4 separate regions of the Homo sapiens genome follow, and regions 2, 3 and 4 are each linked to region 1. The links are contacts of gene promoters, found by promoter capture Hi-C in blood cells and fetal thymus (Javierre and others, 2016). All regions are on one chromosome and are shown on one strand. Each heading gives the region's core, a stretch centred on a gene start or on the middle of the fragment in contact. The rest is flanking DNA. Distances are from core to core; before and after follow the strand shown.

Region 1 (3,170 bases), core at 502-3,001:
ATTCTCCCACTAACCCCTATCCAAGTCTTTGATCACAGAGCAAACTCAGCATGAGACTAAGTGACAGCTGGACGCTTAAGCATTAAATGTATGTGCTGGAAACGACTGTGCGGAAGGTAAGTCCTCACGCTGGGCCCCCAAAATCGGAGGCTCAGGTTCCCGGCCAGGATGCACTTGTAGGGTAACGAGATCCTGGAGGTGAGGGGCCGGCACTCACGTGGTGACAGTATTGAAGCCACAGGCCTTCAGCTTCAGCAGGCGGTCCCTCCAGTACTCCCTGGGCACCCGGAAATAGTGGATGGAGCCCCCGAAGATCAGGAACTTGTGGCCCTCCAGTGTGAAGTGGGGCTTACCCCGACCTGTGCTTTCAGTTCCAAGTCCCACAGATCGATTCTTCAGCTCCAGAGGGGTCAGATGAGACCAATTAAACCTGGAGGGGGCGGGCGAGGGAAAGAAAGTGGAAAGGGAGAGAGGATTCGGGAGAGGGCTCGGAGGCACGGCTGAAACCCTAGCGAAAAGAAGTTTTTGTTAGTAGGACGTGTTCTGTGCATATGTTAGTAGGACGTGTTCTGTGCATATGTTAGTAGGACGTGTTCTGTGCATATTCGCGATACTATTTTCTCCAAGAAAGGAGAGATCGCTCCCCTCCCTCCCCAGGGATGTAGCTCTCAAGCAAACCTAGGCTGGGACGGATGCGCTCTTCCAAGCATGAAGTTCTCTTCCTGCTTAAACCGAGGAGCAAAACCTGATGAGATAAATGGCAGGAAAAAGATGCCCGCCATTCTCTTCCAGGAGAGACACGGGCTGAAAGGAGAAAGGACAACAGTGACAAGGGGAAGGTTCCGGCCCCACCGGGCTGCAAGGGCCGGGAAGCTGTGCCGGGGGCGCTTTAGAGGCCAGAGCCAGGGAGGGGGCCCGCGACACAGGCGGGTCTTCCAGGCGGGCCCAGGGCCAGGACAGCGCGGCATCACCCGGCCAGTCCTCTGCAGCCAGGATGAAGGCCGGGGACAGACGTTCAGTCCTAGACCCTCCAGACAGGGCTGGGCAGTGCCGGTGGGTGCCTGGGAGAGGCGGAGGCGGGCGCACTTCCAGCACCAGGTTCGGGAAGGACACGGTGCCCAGCCGCTGGAGCCCCTGGCCTGCGTGCCCCACCCTGATTTTCTGGCATCTGGTGAACGGCCCCTCCGCAGGGTGGGGGTAGCCAGGGGATCTGCCGAGGAAAGCTGGGGACAGCGGGCTTGGTGGCGCGGCCCGGCGCGGCGCGTGCCTGGGGCGCGTGGCCGGCCACAGAACCCGGGGAGGGTGGAGGCTCCCGGGCACGCGCCGGGGTGGTGGGCAGCCCGGGACGGCAGCGGCGATCCGTCACCTGAGGAGGGGCGGGGACTTCATCGCGGCCAGGCCGAGGCGCCGAGGGTCCCTTGCGGCTTCCGCCCCTCTCCGCTGGCCCCGACGCCGCGCTCGGGCCGGGACTCGAGCCCCGGTTCCGCGGGGCAGGCTCAGGTCTGCGCGCTGCGCCTGCAGCCGAGGCAGAAATCCGTCCCGAGGCGCGGGCGCCGGGTCCGGGTCCCAAGGATGCGCGTCGGGCTCCCTCCCGCGGGGACAGCCGAGCTCCGCCGGCGCTCCAGGTGTTCCCGCAGTGCGTCCGGGCGCGGACGCCTCTCTGCCCTCGGAGGGGAAGCGGGAGGGCCCTTGGGGTAACGCCCCGACCTCGGGCTTCCTAACCTGGGTCGACAGCCGGCTGGCACAGGGAGGCCTGCGCGGGAGAGGGGCGGAGAGAGCGCAGCGCGGGGCACAGCGGGCGGTCTCCGTGCCGCGCGCGCGACTGGAAACGGCGTGCAGATCCTAAAACGAGGGTTCCACAGAGGGCCACGAGGGGCAGGAGAGAGTCCCCGGAGAACTCTAGCTCCCCGACACGGCTACCTCTTGGCAAACGAGCGAGAATTGGGGCGCAGAGCCTTGGGAGGGCCGTTCCCTCGGCGGGAGCGGCCCGAGCACAGCCTCACAGCAGATGCGAGCGCGGCGGGCGCTTTGGTGACGAAGTAGCGGGACCTGCAGGAGGCAGAGGCCTGGTGGGGCCGTGGACGCCACGCCGAGCTGCCCAGACCCTTCCAGAAGACAGTGGGGACTATTCAACGGTTTCCAGCAGAAACTAAGCCAGGTGTTCGTTTTACGGAGATTGCTCGGCTGCAGGGTGGAGGCTGGATGAGAACAGGCGTCCTCTCAGGTAGGCGCTCGTGGTGGTAACGCTGCCCAGGAGGAGGGCACGGGTTCCGGGAAGACTTGCGAGGTTAAACCGGCAGCTCCGGAGAACTGAGCGCAAGAGGTCGGTGACACAGAGAGGAGTCCGGGAGGCCGCATGTTTCAGGCTGAAGTCACTTGGCGGGGACGTTTATTGAGATGCGAAACACAGGAAGGGATAGAGGCTGCGCAGAGGGAAAAGGCGATGGACTCGGTTTTGGAAACGCTGATGTGAAGTCCCTACGATGAAAAAAGAAATCTTCCGATTTCTCCCTTTGAAGTCTTTGCTTCTTCCGTTGCAAAGAACACAGCCTATGACATCAGGTTGAAACCAAGAATGTAGTTCTCTGAAAATACTGTGTGTGGGGGAGGGAGTTTATCTTGTCTCATTCCTTACAAGGATACTTTGCTCTCCGACACCTTAGCTCCCTGAAAGTTTCCTAGATCGTCCATCTTTTCCTCATTTTTTCGACTGCAAGCAATGAACTGTTAATTTTTTACAGTTTGGTTTTACAGCCACACACTTTATTCTTCTTTGTCAAGTTTAAAGTATTCTAGGGCTTGTGCCTTCCCACATAAAATTTAGAATAAACTTGTCTGTTTCTACAAAAAGCCATGTTGGTATTTCGAGAGGAATTGCAATCAACCTATGGATCAAATTGAGAATTGTATCCTTATTATGTTGAATCTTCCAACCCACGAACATGGTATGTCTGTCTATTTAAATAGTTTTTTTTTTTTCACTTCTTTCATCAGAATTGTGTGATTTTTTCAACATCAGATCCTATCACGTTTTGTTAGGTTTATACTTAAATATTTCCTTTGCTCTCAAGAGATTTAAACTGTTATTATTTTTATTTCAGTTTTTACATGTTTGTTGTTAGCATACAGAAATGTGATTGTGTTTCTCATGTTGATCTCATATCCTGTGA
Region 2 (3,170 bases), core at 483-2,982, 360 kb after region 1:
GACAAGGTGCTGCCGCTCGCCACGGACCCTCTGCCCTGTGCCTGGGCACACACAGGCATCGGGCACCTGCATGGGAGACGGCGAGCCTCCCGTCCAGGTGCTTCTGGCTTTCCAGGCGAGAAGGAGACAGGTGCCTTCCCCCCCTAGAGATGTCAAGGGAGGTTCACTTTCCTAACCAGGGCTATAAATCTCATTCATTCCTAAGAGTGGCCTCCATAAAGAGGACTGCCCTGACATTTCTTTACCATCTGTAGCTATAAAATTGTCAGCAGCCCAGAGGCCCTGGAATTGTGGGTGAGGCTGTCTGGCATAGGGTGAGTGTGAGGGCTGTCAGGCAGCGTTTATGAGCTCACCTGCTCTGGGGCCCTCCTGCGCCCAGAGACCCACTGGTCTTCCACCTTCCCCAGCTCCCTCCCTGTCCCAGCTGTGACTCCTCCACAGCCCCCGGAGGTGTGGGAGCCCTAGACTAGCTCTCACCCCAGCTCCTGGAAATTCCTAGACTCTGCTCTCATGTGTTATTCCTCACCCCTTCACTCAACTCCATTGACCCTCTCCTTTCCCAGTGTCCCCACTGTGCCAGATCCAAGAGAAGCCCGCTCTCCTTTCACTGCTGTGGCAAACCCAGAAACCAGGGGCAGCGATGAGGGACCATCGTTTCTCTCCCGGGCCTGGCCAGCATCCCCAGCCTAGGAGAAGGAGACCCTCCCCATCCTGAGTCAGCCCCTCGGTGCTGGCCTCTCCTGCCTGCTGGGAGCCTCCCCGGTACGGCTGCTGGGTCCTGGGGAGATGCAGGCTCTGTTCAGATGCTGTCTCCATGCTGCACCTTTGCATGTGTGCCCTCTTGGTCTTGCTTGGAGAAGTTGTGACAGCTCTTGTCCACGTGCGTTCTCACTGTTTCTTTTCCCTTCAGTTCCTCTCCTGTTCCTTTGGTCCATATGTAGTTGTTGCCCCTGCCTCTCCTCCTTTCTCTCTCCCTTTTTTTCTCCTCTTCCCAACTCCCTTCTCAACATGGGGAGTTGTATTGCGTGGACCTGTCCTTTCTGTGGACTGTGGGGAGGCCGAGCCAATTCTTAGCTCCTGTCTGAGCCTAGTGATGCCCTGTCCTCACCTCTGCTTCCACTCCCTTTCCCATTCAGGCTGACTGTCACCGCAGGGAGGCAGGTGGGTCTGGAGCATGGAGTGGCCCCTGTCCTGGGTCAGCTGTAGGAAGGGGCCCCTTTGTAAACAAGCTTCTGCCAGGTTCTGAGGCAGAGCACTGGTCTGAGTCCGGCCCCACAGAAGGGTTCCATCTTGTGGTCAGCGGGGTGGGCTCAGACCTGCAGACTCCCGCAGTGGGCCCACCCTTTCCCTTGCTATGGCCCGTCTATGAGTGGCTTTCCCCTGCCTCCATCGGTGTATAATCAGGCAGGTGGTGTTTGCTCTTAGGTGATTAGAAGAGGAGGAAAATGCCCATCAAGCCACTGCTTCAGCCTGTTGGCCAGGGAACACCTGAACAGGGTCAAAATGGTCAGCTCCTGGGCGCTGAGCTAAGGAAATATGCAGGGGGTTTTGACTTTCCCTGTCCTGAGGCTTGCCTCCACTTTGACCTGGCTGCATCTTTCCTCAGCTCTTCTGGGTAAGCTGAGAGCTAAGCAAATAAGACCTCCTGGGCTACCTGGTCATGATTTGGGTTTTGTATGGATTTTTTGAAAAGAGAGAAAAAGAGTGTGGGCTGGGTGCCGTGGCCCAGAGGGCAGATCTCTTGAGTCCAGGAGTTCAAGGCCAGCCTGGGCAACATAGTGAAGCCCCATCTCTGCAAAAAAATACAAAAAAATAGCTGGGCATGGTGGCACATGCCTATAGTCCCAGCTCCTTGGGGGGCTGAGGTGGGAAGATCATCTGAGCTGGGGAGGTCGAGGCAGCAGTGAGCCGAGATTGCGCCACTTCACTCCAGCCTGGGTGACAGAGACCCTGTCTCAAAAAAAAAAAAAAAAAAAAAAGAGAGAGAGAGAAGTAAGTTCCAGGCAATTGTTGGTAGTTCTGTACTGCAAAAAACACCTCTGTGCCAAGGCTTTGAGGCCCTCATCTTGGAGTAATCCCCTGACTTCCTGGGAGAAGGGGAGCCCCAGGGTTCGTAGCATTCCTGCATGCTTTAGAACAGTGTAGGCTGGTTGGGAAGAGAACTGTGACCTTAAATTCTTGGAGAGCCCAGGACTGGCTTCTGGGGTAATGGCATCATCTATGGATCAAGCTTAGATTTACCTGACAGCTGAATTCCAGGGATAGGATGGAGTTGCTTCACTGAAGCTTCCCACCTGAGACATTGGCACCAAGAGCTCCATGACCAAAGGGCCCCAGGTGGGGCTGGCGTTGGCAACAAACATGGTCACCTTCCTAAAACAGGGAGGCAATTCGATTGCACAGGGCTTTACGTGCTGTTGGTAAAGTCTGTTAGGTCACATTCTATGTGTCTTTTCTGTACCATGTGCCAAAAATAGACTCATTTTGCCTGCCCTGCTTCCTCCCTCCTGTTCTGCCAGACACCAGCTTTTGTTTTTTCCTCCCACATTGGGTGAGGGTCTTGGTGTGTCCAGAGCCTTCTTTTGTCCTGTGGCTATGCTTCGGTGCTGAGCCCAGAGCTAAACAGGTGGACAGCAGGTGTCCCGGAAGGGCTGGAGCTTGGCTGTTTCTCAAGGGAAAATCGGCTGCTTCTGGTCACTGGATCATTACTGTCTGGGAATTTTTGCTTTGACGATACAACTTAAGCAGGCTCCTCTCCAGCCCTGGTCTGTCTCACCGGGGCTGTTCCACCAAAGCACAGAATGTCAGTGCTCGCCTCAAGTACGTTGCAAGGCAGATCTATTTCTCAGGTGTGGCGGGGATGCCATGCTTTTCTTCTTTGTAGCTGCTATACCTTTGTGGATTGGGAAGACGCTGGAAGGGCAGTGGAGAGGTGAGCCTAATGTTAAGAGTCTTGGCTCTTTCCCACGATGACTGGATGATTCGACAGGTTGCTCACCTCTCTAAACTTCAGTGTCTCCATCTGAAAAATGGGGGCATTGTAGTATCTACCTCTTAGGTTTGCTGTAGAGATTACAGGCAATTATTGTACAGCAGTGCCTGCTGTGGTAAGTGGTAAATCAATGCTAGATGATAAAAATGACAACAGTGATAAGATGTTGATTCTAACC
Region 3 (3,170 bases), core at 292-2,791, 340 kb after region 1:
ATCATCATAAAGGGAAAGACTGAAGGATGGTAGCAAAGCCTGAGGAGCTGGGAGCAGGCAGTGTTTGTAAGGGCCACCCTAGAGTAGATGCTCAGTTAACATCGGTGACCTGGGAATAAGCTACAATACAGAATTTGGACCCAGCCAGCCTGAGTTTGGATGCAGGTCTCCCTGCCAGTGATGTTGGTAGGCAGAAAGTTTTTCCCATCCCCACCTTCCTTCCTTTGTCCTTGCATTCCGCAGAGCCGCAGCGAGGGTGATGTGTGGGGCAGGTACTGTTGTTGCAGGGCAGCGATGTGGCTGATGGCGTGTCCTTCATCTTTGTGGTCTCCTTTGCAGCCCCTCCCACCTTTACAGAAACACCCCCCCAGTACATCGAGGCCAAGGAGGGTGGTAGTATCACCATGACCTGCACAGCTTTTGGGAACCCCAAGCCCATTGTCACCTGGCTCAAGGAGGGGACGCTCCTCGGTGCTAGTGGGAAATACCAGGTGAGTGTGGTTCTAGGTTGGGGCCGCTGCGGTCTCTTCCCCCGTTTCCCCAGGGCAGCCTCCTACTGCAGCCGACCCCTGATGCTACAGGCACAAGCACAGAGGAGGCTGGAAAGCCGTAGCCTGGCTCAGCTGCAGGCGTCTCTGTGTCGCTGGCGGGAGATGGGCAAGGGGGCACCTGCCCTTCGTGTCCCCCAGATGCATCTGTCCCTGTGGTCATCTCCACCTTAGTGTCTCCGACTGCATCTCCGTGTTTGAGGGTAGCAGCGGTGGGTGTGAGCGTGGGTGCTGAGCTCCCTCTGTTTTGGGCTCCCAGGTGAGTGACGGCAGCCTGACAGTGACATCGGTCAGTCGGGAGGACAGAGGTGCCTACACCTGCCGAGCGTACAGCATTCAGGGGGAGGCTGTCCACACGACTCACCTGCTTGTCCAAGGTAGGAGCCATTTCCTCAGCCTCTTTAACCCTGGGCTCCCGCGGGGATGTCCAGCCCGGCTGAGCTACGGAGGGCGTTTTCCCAGGGCTCAGCTGGGGCTAGTGGAGGTGCAGGCGGCCATGAGGACCTGTGCGGGGCTCCTGTGTGCTGCCTGCTGCCCTGGTCAGAGCTCCTGCACCGGCTGCCTGGGAGAGGGCCAGGCCCACAGGCCGTGGCCAGGCACCACATGGCGTGGCAGAGAGGCCCCTGCTGTGTGGGTTTCTGGTTTCTCCTTCTGTTCAGATAGCATCTCTCCCATGTCTCCGCCTCCCTGGGAGAGGAGACCTCCCTGGGGTCATCTATCCATTAGTGACGGCATCAATAAATAAAGATAGAAACTCAATCCAAGCCCCAGACATTTAAATAACACAGTGGGCATTTGGCAGAGCTGGGGTCTGTATGGTCAGCACAGGGAGATGCCAGACTGCCCTGCCTGGAGCCCCAGAGTCCCCAGAGAGGGGCCAGGAACTGTGCAGGATGGGGCAGCGTCCCGGTCGGGGGGTCTCTACCCTGTGCTGAACTCGGCCCCCGGCTTAGCCTCCCCAGCCCTGCCTCCTGGAGGAACTCGGGGGTTGTGGGGGTTGGTGGCGGCTGCATGCTCCTCCTGCCTCTGAGTGCCGAGCAGCAGCCTGGGCCAGAGGTCCCTCAGCAGCCTGGATGGAAGCTGTTCCCTCTCAGGGGAGACTTGGCCGCAGCTGCCCCCTTTGTCTGTGCAGCCAGCACCAGGACTGCTGGACTTTCACCCTCTGCTTACTCCTCGGCCCCTGCACCCCCAGCTGCCCTCTTGATTTCTGGCTGGGGAGCAGCCCACGGCCCTGACTCCTTGAGACTGGACTATTCCTCGCTCTAGATTTGAAAAGAGTTGCCTTTCTCCCTGCTGCATGTCTGGCTCGGGCTCTGCTGGGAGAAGGCAGGCAGGAAGGGGGTGTGCGTGGCGGCTGGTCTGGGGAGCCTGGTGCGGGGGCAGGGGTGGTGGACAGGATGCCTGAGCACAGATAGCATCTGGAAGTGTCTCCATGACAGCCGCCCCCATCGCAGTGTTCAGGGCACCGCTTCCTGAGGCACTGAGGGCTCCCAGGAGGCCTGGGTGCTGCTGCCGTCCCTGATCAGGCGAGGTGGGGTTTGTTCCCTGCTCTCCCCAGGGCCCCCTTTCATCGTCTCCCCTCCTGAGAACATCACCGTCAACATCTCCCAGGATGCTCTGCTCACCTGCCGGGCAGAGGCGTATCCGGGCAACCTCACCTACACCTGGTACTGGCAGGACGAGAACGTCTACTTTCAGAAGTGAGCACCCTGCTCTGACTTTTCAATGAGGTTGCCACCCCAGCCCCCACGGGCAGGGCCCCTGAGCAGAAATTGCACGGGCAGGCTGCCCGTGGCTCTTGGAGCTGGGGGAGGTGGGCAGTCTGGTCCGTGTGTCTCACATGCCAAGGCCAGGGTCTGCATGGAGGGGCCCTGGGGATGCCAGGGGCATGGGCTCTCCATGCCACATCTGGGGCAGTGACGGTGACTGTGTGTCTGCGGCAAGATCCCCTTCTGCTCGCCCAACCCCCTGTCCCCATGCCGCTTTGCAGCGACCTGAAGCTGAGGGTGCGCATCCTAATCGATGGGACCCTGATCATCTTCCGGGTGAAGCCGGAGGACTCGGGGAAGTACACCTGTGTGCCCAGCAACAGCCTGGGGCGCTCCCCCTCCGCCTCGGCGTACCTGACCGTGCAGTGTGAGTAGGGGTGCAGGGGAGCCTGGGTGGTGGGGCTCCCAGAAGGTTTTGGTGTTAGCCAGACTGTAGGCTGGAGGGTAGCAAAGACCAAGCATCATTTGGGGGCATGTAGGTGGAGGAGCGAATAAGAGAAGAAGGAGGGATGGCTGGAGAGGAGGCCGAGGCCCTGGACAGTTGGGGTGGAGCAGCTCCTACTTCGCTGGCCAGGCGTCGCTGTTCAGCCAGTACATCTCATCAGCTCCGTGCAGGCTGCACTCAGGAAGACACCTTTGAGCAGTTCCTTCTGAACGGTGGTCCTCGGGCTGAAGGCTGGCCTGCACCTCTGTGCCCAGAATCAGTTGCTCTCTGGTGCTCTTTTCTCAGGTGTCTTATGGAGCATAGCCCAGGCCCATGCAGGGTTAGGTTTCTCCCAGCCTTACTCCCTGCCTTTCCACACCGCGTCTGTGTCGGGGGCGATGTGCTCCAGCTCCTGCGCCTGCTCCCTCT
Region 4 (3,170 bases), core at 263-2,762, 320 kb before region 1:
GCTGCTTAGATTTCACAGTTCACAAAGCCCAGATTGCTCTGGCCCGGCAGACATCACCAAAGGCCCCTGACCTTCACTTGTGAATTGGAGCAAGCCAAACCCGTCCTCATGACAGCTGCTTTGCTCAAATTGACCCGCTGTTTGCCTTTGGCTGCTGGGGCCTCTGCTTAAGATGTGGTTAAAAACCAAGCAATTAATTCAGCTCATGAGAGCCTGCATGAGAACATCTGTGTCTGAAGCTTTTAGGAGAAGACAGAATAAGATGAGAAAAAAATATAAAAGTAGCAGCTGAAGCACCAAAAACGGTTCTTCCTGCTGAAAGTTCAGAGATTTTGAACAAGCCTCATCTATAAATTCATTATCCATTCTGATTGATTAGAAATACAAGAAATGTAATTAGTTAGAAAGTGTTTTTCTAAATTATGAAATATCTTGGAAACTCATTTCCCATCAATATGTTAATGGACACTTTGATCATCTCTCTTCATTTAAGAAAGTGCTCCTGTTGCCATCATGGAACAAGTTACGATTCCTAGTTTCCAATCATTGGAAAACATTCAATAAATATTTATTGAGTCCCTAATATATGCCAAGAATGGTTACCATGATCAGTCAGGTTTCAGGCATGAAACAAATGGGCAGGCAGTTTGAGGAGCAATATAAGGAATAATTAATAAAGGAGATATTGACAAATGTGTGGGCAATTTGATAGGAAGGACTAGGAATCAGGAATAGAAATATTCAATAGGAAAATCCACAATGGATGCTGAGATCTCCCAGGGCTGTCAATCAATGTGTGGGGGAGCTATAATACCATTAGGCCCCAAGGGGAGTGACCAGGGCCAGGGAGAATCAAGACCCTGCATTCACTCTCCTCCCACCCTCCAGTCTTCAAACAGGGCTCCCCTTGGAGCTGACTGGAGCCCAAAGTCAGGAGTCCCCACTATTGCCCTCAAATGGCCCAACTTCCTGCTGCCCAGAGCAGAGAGGAGAGGGGTGAGGTGGTTGCAGAGGGCCAAAAGGATGATCTGATCTCCAAAGCCTCCAGAGAGAGTCAGAACAAACAGGAGCAGTCCCTGGCCCGAGGAGCTCACGTTCCGGTGGGGGAAGGAAGACAATGACGAACATACAATTTAAAGTCAAGTAGGAAGAAAAGCCAGACGGGACAAAGGAAAAGAGAGTGACTGGAGGCCCGTGCTGGAGCCATCGGAAAGGTGTCTGGGTGCCAACCTTCGAGAATGTGCCCTATGGGCAGAGACTGTGAACCCTTGGGCAGGGAGAACCGTGCAAAGTGGATGGCAATCTGCTTCAGAAGCTCAAGGCATGTTGGGATCGGAAGGTGATTCTTTTTTTTTTTTCATTTTGCTATTGAAACAAGTACAAGGAATTTCCACTTGACTATTACTGCTTAGAAGCAATTGCTGTAAAGCTTTAAGGAATACAAGAAACACTACAGAAAAAAAGACAAGTTCTTAAGCTCCAACATGGGCAGTGTCATCTGTGTCTGAAATGTTTGAGGAGGTCACATCTACCTTCCAGGGTTGCACCATGTTTCGGCTTTTTGAGGAGGGAACAATCAGTAAAATGGAAGCTTTTGGGAACATGCAGTGCCCCACTGGAGGTTACATACAAGATGAAGAGCAAGCTTTGTGGAAAGAGACACCTGAAGAGAGCTGTGCCTCCATGCAGAGAAGCAGCCAGCCCACAGCACTCCAGGAGGAAGACAAGGCTCCATGTCCTGGCCCATGCCCCCCTCCTCTCCACTATTGCTAGTTCTTTCCATTTCTGAAGCCCAGCTGGCAGCCAGAACACAAGAGTGCCTGTTGGTGCAGGGCACCCAGGGAACTCCCAGGGAGGGGACAGGTGCCCTTCCCTTTCCATAGCAGGGGCAGATGGACGCGGTCAGCACAGTGAAGCAATTGCAAGCATACAGCACACAGCACGATGGACTGAGGACTGCAGCCTGGGTGTGCGGGGTCCAGGCATTTGACAGGCAAGTGGCAGCTCTGCTCCAGGAATCCCTGCCCAGCCCGCCCTCCCGCGCCTGCATGAGGAGAAATTCATCGCACTGTTTTAGATTGCACTGGGCACTCTGCTGCCTGTGGTCTTCTAGAATGCCTTGCTGTGAAGTGCAGAAAATCTACCCTACGTTTGATTATACCCTGCTGGCTGCAGTACAGCTAACAGGAGAGGTATATAAAGGGCAAAACCAGAATTTGAACTCTGGCATGCTGGCTTTAAAACCCAAGTCACACGCAAGGAGGTCGTGCATCGCTTCCAGAGCTGGGCCTATGGCCATTTGTGGAAGAAATGAGCAACATTAGTGTTAGGGAATCCAGGTCATATTTAATAAATATAAAAATAAACAGACAATTAAATAAATGCTTTTTTTCCTCTTCAGAGAAGAAAGGTTACTAGATTCTAAAATAGGATACCCTGGGGCATCTGAATTCTTCCAAGAAGGTTTTTAAGAATGGACAAGACTCTATCAGGCACGGGTATTGAACTTAACAGTGTAGAGAGACACAAACTGGGTTGTCTAGGAAAACATTGGCAGCCCAGGGCAGGCTCTAAGCAGAATGAAATAAATACAATGAGAGAGCCATGTCTGGGGCCTTCTCTGATACTGCCACGATTCTTTTCCTCTTGCCTAGTCCTCCCATAGGAGAGATTTTTCAGTCCCATCAGTCTATCCTCATCCCCATTCCTGGTTCCCATTCTGGGGAATCCTGAAGTGTTATGTGCCAGCAGTGCAGTAGCTAATGCGTTAGCGGACAATAAAGAATAACCCTAGGACAATCACTAAGGGCATCCACATTTTAGGGGGCTCATCTCCAAGAACCTCCCTTCTTTTGTTGGTGGCCAATGCTAGAGTGCCTGCTGGGACTCCCCACCCCTGAACCTAAGCTGTCAAGAGATGAGCACCTGGCCCAAAACCTCCTCAAAGCTGCTAACCTCTCGGGTGGCTAAGGAGATGCCTCTGTAGATGAGGCAAGGCCCCAAATAGGCTACCACAGAACCCTTATCTGAGCCCCAGGAGCTCACTGGATTGTAGGGAATCTGAGATTTGGAGTTCACCTACACATTTTTCACTCTTAACTTCAGACCTAGCTATCTAGTTAAATGCTTGTTCTTAGGCTGGATGCGGTGGCTCATGCCTGTAATCCCAG

What was found. Contacts are between HindIII fragments. The CHiCAGO score rates a contact against its expected background, and 5 or more counts as called.
Region 2: a contact is called between a fragment that was not itself captured here and the fragment with the promoter of GLB1L3 in region 1, in 3 of 17 cell types (activated CD4 T cells, non-activated CD4 T cells and naive CD8 T cells). The highest score is 9.1, in activated CD4 T cells.
Region 3: a contact is called between a fragment that was not itself captured here and the fragment with the promoter of GLB1L3 in region 1, in 7 of 17 cell types (naive CD8 T cells, activated CD4 T cells, total CD4 T cells and 4 more). The highest score is 7.4, in naive CD8 T cells.
Region 4: a fragment that was not itself captured here is called in contact with the fragment with the promoter of GLB1L3 in region 1 in 1 of 17 cell types (total CD8 T cells); the score reaches 5.2 in total CD8 T cells.

The regions. Positions count from the first base shown.
Region 1 is chr11:134,274,960-134,278,129 of GRCh38, reverse strand. GLB1L3 (galactosidase beta 1 like 3) reads right to left here and starts at 1,751. Exons shown (of 20, transcript NM_001080407.3): 1 at 1,367-1,751; 2 at 679-804; 3 at 218-430. The coding sequence starts at 1,389. RefSeq lists a silencer at 1,573-1,642 and enhancers at 2,093-2,142, 2,293-2,422, 2,483-2,592. The HindIII fragment of the contact is 7,995 bases long and covers 1-3,170 here.
Region 2 is chr11:133,914,078-133,917,247 of GRCh38, reverse strand. The region is part of intron 18 of IGSF9B (immunoglobulin superfamily member 9B); the gene reads left to right. Among named protein-coding and RNA genes, the nearest start is that of MIR4697, 17 kb to the right of the region's middle. The HindIII fragment of the contact is 1,001 bases long and covers 1,232-2,232 here.
Region 3 is chr11:133,935,131-133,938,300 of GRCh38, reverse strand. It overlaps IGSF9B (immunoglobulin superfamily member 9B), which reads left to right. Exons shown (of 20, transcript NM_001277285.4): 4 at 340-491; 5 at 808-925; 6 at 2,107-2,248; 7 at 2,539-2,684. Among named protein-coding and RNA genes, the nearest start is that of IGSF9B, 20 kb to the left of the region's middle. RefSeq lists an enhancer at 2,469-3,170. The HindIII fragment of the contact is 4,497 bases long and covers 1-3,170 here.
Region 4 is chr11:134,596,369-134,599,538 of GRCh38, reverse strand. No RefSeq gene overlaps it. Among named protein-coding and RNA genes, the nearest start is that of LINC02706, 110 kb to the left of the region's middle. The HindIII fragment of the contact is 162 bases long and covers 1,432-1,593 here.